2 separate regions of the Homo sapiens genome follow, and region 1 is linked to region 2. The links are contacts of gene promoters, found by promoter capture Hi-C in human tissues and cell types (Jung and others, 2019). All regions are on one chromosome and are shown on one strand. The core of a region is centred on a gene start or on the middle of the fragment in contact, and the rest is flanking DNA. Distances in the headings are between cores, read along the strand shown.

Region 1 (2,913 bases), core at 386-2,885, 200 kb after region 2:
TATTCAATATATCTTATAGATAAACTTGTTAATGACATTTCCATTTTTAAACATGATTTTGCCAAATGCAGTTTTGCCAATTACAATATTTTCCGGGACCATAAGCCAGTGCCTAGTGAAAAATTACTAGAGATTCATTTCATATGTAACACCATTCCTCTCTTTCTAACAATTTTATGCATCATTGAGGCCAAGATCAAGTTCTTTTTCTCTAAAACTTAGCTGGCAGGCCAAGCCCATGCTATTCTTTTTCTCCCCCTTGTCTGTTTGGAAAGATTGTCAGTTCTGCACATTTTAACACTTTCGATCATGCATTATGTAGTCTTGTTCTCTCATCAATTCATTTGAGTTATCCTTGTCTTCCTGGATGGATTGTACCTCTGTGGAGGTTTCACTGAGTAGACATTCTCAAAGGTCAGGAACAGTCAAGGTTCCACTTAAAAGAAAAAAAAAATGTTTCTCTAATTCTTACTAAGATCTTGTGTGTATTGAAGCTGCTCTAAGTGCTATGCAGCTATTATTGTAGCCCCGTATAGTAGGTGCTATTATCATCCCTGTTTTACAGATGAACTCACTTAGATTGAGTCAAGAACCCACTGAAGACAATCATCAGAGCTGAGAAAATTAACTAAGAAAAAGATGCACGTGGCTGTAATTAGAAGAAAAACAGTTTGCCTGCTCTCATTTGGCTGAGCATTTTAAAAAACCTTTTCAATAAGTAAGTATTGAATGTTAACATGAGAACCTCTGCGTAGGTTGGCGATCATTTCTTCTATATAGGTTATGCTGAAGTTAATGGTCTAGTAACCATTTGATGGCTGGACCTTGCCATTCTCAATAGATCACTTTGCACAAGACCCCAGCAGGTGGTGCTATAACTGGCAAGCGGCTTCAGGCATGCCCCATTGCTCTCAGAGTGAATTTTCCCACGTCCTTGGGAGCCTGGGGTGGTGGGGTGGGGGTGGGGTGTTCCTTGCAGAGAAGGCTCTTACTCCTGTCTGTGTAAGTGCATGTTACCTACACAGGCCCTCCTCTGGCCCATCTCTGTGCTGCTGTGTTTGAATTGCTTCCCATTCATCCCACGGGGGAACAATCCTAGGGTTATAGGGATAGTCAAACACATGACAAACAGCCCAGCACTGGACAGATGAGGTTGAGACTAGTTTATTTATCACACACACTCATGGCCTGGGGAGAAAGACACTGTGCCACACAGGGCCACAACGGAGTTGAACTTGGGAACAGAGGCTGTGGGAGGCAGGCTCTGTGGTATCAAGAGGATAGGGGGACTCCTGCTTCCCACAGGGGAAGTGGTTAGTTTGTCTGAAATGTTTTATGGGCTGGGAGGGAACTAAGACTACCCACGCAGGGATAAGGAGGAGCTGCACCTGGTCCATTTGGTGATAAGGGTCTTTTGGCAAGGGATTCTTTTTTTTTGTTGTTTGTTTTTTGTTTTTTTGTTTTCTGAGATGGAATCTTGCTCTGTTGCCCAGGCTGGAGTACAGTGGTGTGATCTTGACTCACTGCAAACTCCGCCTCACAGGTTCAAGTGATTCTCCTGCCTCAGCCCCCTGAGTAGCTGGGATTATAGGTGCACACCACCACGCTTGGCTAATTTTTGTATTTTTAGTAGGAGACGGGGTTTTGCCATGTTGGCCAGGCTGGTCTCGAACTCCTGACCTCGTGATTGCCTGTCTCGGCCTCCCAAAGTGCTGGGATTACAGGCGTAAGCCACTGTGCCCGGCCAAGGGATTCTTATCCATGGTGTGAAGGAAGAGGAGAACTTGTGGTTAGGACATTCCAGGCCCTCCCAGTTTTGCCATGTATCAAGGCAGCAATTAATATTGAATCTTATTGTTAGGCCTTAAACCCCATGCTGTTGTGTGGCCCCACATGAACGTTCTTGCTTTATGTCTATATTTTTGCTCTAATTTTTTTTTTTTTGGTAGAGATGGGGACTTGCTATGTTGCTCAGGCTGGCCTTGAATTCATGGCATCAAGGGATCCTCCTGCTTTGGCCACCTAAAGTGCTGGGATTTTTAGGTGTGAGCCACCATGCCTGGCCTAAATTTTTTTTTTTTTTGAGTTGGGGTCTTCCTGTGTTTCCCAGACTGGTCTCAAACTCATGGGCTCAAGCAATCCTCGTACTTCAGTCCCCCAAGTAGCTGAGATAACAGGTGTAGGCCACTATGTGTGGCTATTATTATTATTATTATTATTTTTTTTTTTTGAGACGGAGTCTTGCTCTGTCACCCAGGCTGGAGTGCAATGGCGTGATCTCGGCTCACTGCAACCTCTGCTTCCTGGGTCCAGGCGATTCTCCTGCCTCAGCCTCCCGAGTAGCTGGGATTACAGGCACCTGCGTCATGCCCGGGTAATTTTTGTATTTCTGTAGAGAGGGGGTTTCACCATGTTGGCCAGGCTGGTCTTGAACTCCTGACCTCAGGTGATCTGCCTGCCTTGGCCTCCCAAAGTGTTGGGATTACAGGCATGAGCCACCACGTTGGGCCTATTTTTATTATTTTTTTAAGGGATAGGGTTTGCCGTGTTGCTCAGGCTGGCATGCAGTGGCTATTCACAGGCACGATTACAGCACGCTATAGCCTCAGACTCCTGGGCTCAAGCCATCCTTCTGCTTCAGCCCTCTGAGCTCTTCAGCTAAGAACATAGATTTCTGGCTCTTCCGATTCTTGCCTGAGACTTACTTTAGAATAGTTTTTCGGTTTCTTTCAAATTGAAAGAAGAGATCACTGGCACTTGGGAGGGGAAAAACTGGAGGATGTGTTCATTATTCAGTCCTCAAACCTCCCCAGGATTCATGTTGTATTTCTGAAACTAGACCACTAGGAAGCTCCAGACCTGCTTTGATCAGATGACCCTGAATAGTTAGGGTTCTTTCAGTTCCATGGAAAA
Region 2 (2,770 bases), core at 3-2,502:
GTCTCCAGGACTGGCCAGACTTAAGTCGCCATGGCAGCAATGACCTTCTTTCCTGCCATTGCCCAGGGGAATTCGGAGAGCAAACAAGGAGCCCCCGGGCGCGCGCAGCAACTTGGGTGGTGCCTGGGGCACTTTGTGTTCTAAGTCTGCCTGCACCCCTCAGGGAGACCTATCGGGAGCAGGTGCCAGGGCTACTCACCTACAGGGGTGTCCTCTGGGAGGCTGAACAGAGCCATGTTTCCGTTGGTGCTGCCGACCCCGTTGTCGAAGAAGTGCGGGGCGAAGTTGGCCTGAGCTGGAAAAAGAACACAGAACAGACGGACACCCAGGCAAAGGACACCCAGACACCAGGAGGGAGCTTCGCACCAGCGCGGTCCCGCGTCAGGCCCAGCTACTGGGCAGGAGGGCGCTCCGCCTCCCCAACCCAAGTGCACCGAGGGACCCCACTGGGGCGCCGCCCAGAGGATGCCCCTGACCCCCACTCCGCCCCCGGTGGGCTCGGGCTTGTCAGGGACACGTAGCATGTGGGCGCTTAGAACCCAGGTAGCAATCCAACCCCTCCTTCATCAATGGGCAGATTGCACCCGCGCTCGGAGAGGGGCAGTGCCCCAGCCCAGCCAAGGTCAAGCCGCGAGTCAGGGCACTATCTCCTGCCCCACGCAGCATCGGAGCTGCCACCAAGCCTACAGCTCTGGTTCCCAGCAAGCGGAGAGCAGCGGGGGTCCGGGCGCCAAACCCTGGGGCCCTAGGATGCCAGCTCTGGAGAAGCGCCCCGGAGCTCCCCACTACTCCGCTACCCCACTCCCCACTACCGAATGGGCCAGGAAGATGGAAGGACTTCTCCGCTCCCGTCCACCAGCCCGAGTCCCACTCTGGAAGTGGTCCAGGACCATGTCCCTCTGGCCACCTGGGTGACGCCAGCGCCCATCTCCCTCGCCATCCACGCGGCCAGCGCGGCCCAGCGGCCACTCACCCAAGCAGAGGCGCAGCAGCCCCAGGGCCAGGGCGGCCCACCGGCAGCGCCTCATGTCTCCGCCGGCGCGGAGTGTCGCCTGCCGCCGCCGAGACCGGGCGCAGGGGCACGGAGCATGCCCTGGGCCCGCGGGGAGGGCAGAGACCACAATGGGGGTAGCGGCGACTGCAGCCGCGGCGGGAGGGGGCACGGGGCGGGAGCGGCGGGTGGCGTGAGGGCGCTAAGAGGATGACACGGCTCGGATCTGCTCCTGCCGGCCGCCTGACGAGACCAATTAGCGGCGCAGAGCGGAGCGACAGGCTCCCAGCCGCGGGCGGGGGCAGGAGGGCGTGACAAGAGGACTCCCCGCCCGCCACGCCCCCTTTGCCGGCGGCCCCCAGTCCTGGACAGGAGGACACCATGGGGGACAGGAGTGTCTTTCCCCCAAGTTGTCCTGAGGCTTTCCCAGGGTACTTAAGTCCTGGTGGGGCTTGGGCTTCGCAGTTTTCTTTTCTCATCAACTTCCTCTGTGACTTTCAGGGGCTTAGCTGTCTTCTCTGAGCTAAGCATTCCAGAAGAAAAGTTAGTGGAGCGGCCGAGAGGGCCTTGCCTTAGCAGTCTAAGCAGGTTCTATAAGCCGCGTGAGACCAAAGGCAAAGAGAAAGGGTGATGGATGGGCAGCAGATGGTAAGGGGTTATCAGGACCCCCTCTCTGTGATCTCAACCCATTCCTGCCCTGTTCCCCAGGCTGGACCACCTCTCCCAAAGGGTCTGATCTGTGTGGTGGGCAGCAGGGAGGACCCTCAGGTGTCCACCAGGGTGAGAGGCAGTTCTGCTCCCCATTCCCAGTCAGTGCCCAGTCTGGGACCATGAAGGGGCAGCTGACCCACTCTTCAAACCTTCCAAGGAAGAGTGAAGGGCCTGAAGGCAGAGTTAAGCCCCATCTTAGGACAGACTTGCACAGAGCTGGCCAAGATAGATCTGAACTGCCCGAGAGGCACGAGATCTCATTCCTAGAGGGTATTTACACAAAGCAAGGCACTGCTATTGGGGTCCTGGATGCTGATAACTTGAAGACACAGGTAAGCCCAGGAACCTTTTTGGCTGCTGGTAAAGCTCCTTGGGCTTCCTCGTTCTCCTGCTCTGACACTGGAGGGTGCTTGGAAATGCAGCCTGTTTTCCTTTTCCTGGTTGGGCCATTTATGGGGGTACAGGTCACTTCAAGCCCAAGCCAGGCCACTTCCCAGGATGCCCTTGGGTGGATGTGTTCTCAGATAGAGGAGATCCCTCCTCTGTGTGCTCCTGGGAGAGGTCTCCACAGCTGAGGACTCAGCATTCCCCCCCTCCCCCTGCCAGGGGCCTTTGAGGGAACAGAGCACCCCCCATCCCTTGGTCTAGCCCTACATGATCTACTGTGAGCAAGGGTCAGGGATTTGCAGAGAAGAAGGAAGATGAATCAATGGTTTTAGAATGTGCAGCAGTTTTCAGGCCTAATTGGCCGAAACCCTTGTTGAGTCTCCTTAGGCTTGGCTCTTTTGCTGAAAAGACACACTTTAAATTGCACAGATGTTCTGAATCTGCCTCCCAAAGTGCTGGGACAAAGCTAAGGCAAGTATTCTGCAAGTCCCATATAGGGATGTGGAGACTGAGTCTTGCCGTGGATTTCCCAGGAGCCAGAGGCAGAGCCAAGGTTTCCTGGAGTAGATGTCTTGGTGGGCCGAGAAAAGCCAGCTCTCCCTGGGTCCTGTTAGCCCTGCTCCTCACCAATCTAGGGCCGTTGATTTCTCTCTCCTCAGTTCCCTCAGTCAACAGCCATGC

The links. The method cuts DNA at HindIII sites, captures the fragments that hold promoters and counts their contacts. A contact is called where the count stands out against the background at its distance.
Region 1: a fragment that was not itself captured here is called in contact with the fragment with the promoter of CDHR1 in region 2 in 1 of the 25 tissues and cell types used here (lymphoblastoid cells).

The regions. Positions count from the first base shown.
Region 1 is chr10:83,990,550-83,993,462 of GRCh38, reverse strand. LOC105378399 (a long non-coding RNA gene) reads left to right here. Exons shown (of 4, transcript XR_946148.2): 2 at 566-718. Among named protein-coding and RNA genes, the nearest start is that of GHITM, 150 kb to the left of the region's middle. The HindIII fragment of the contact is 6,900 bases long and covers 1-2,913 here.
Region 2 is chr10:84,193,019-84,195,788 of GRCh38, reverse strand. CDHR1 (cadherin related family member 1) reads right to left here and starts at 1,252. Exons shown (of 17, transcript NM_033100.4): 1 at 974-1,252; 2 at 200-295. The coding sequence starts at 1,028. RefSeq lists silencers at 1,037-1,156, 1,227-1,356. The HindIII fragment of the contact is 10,516 bases long and covers 1-2,770 here.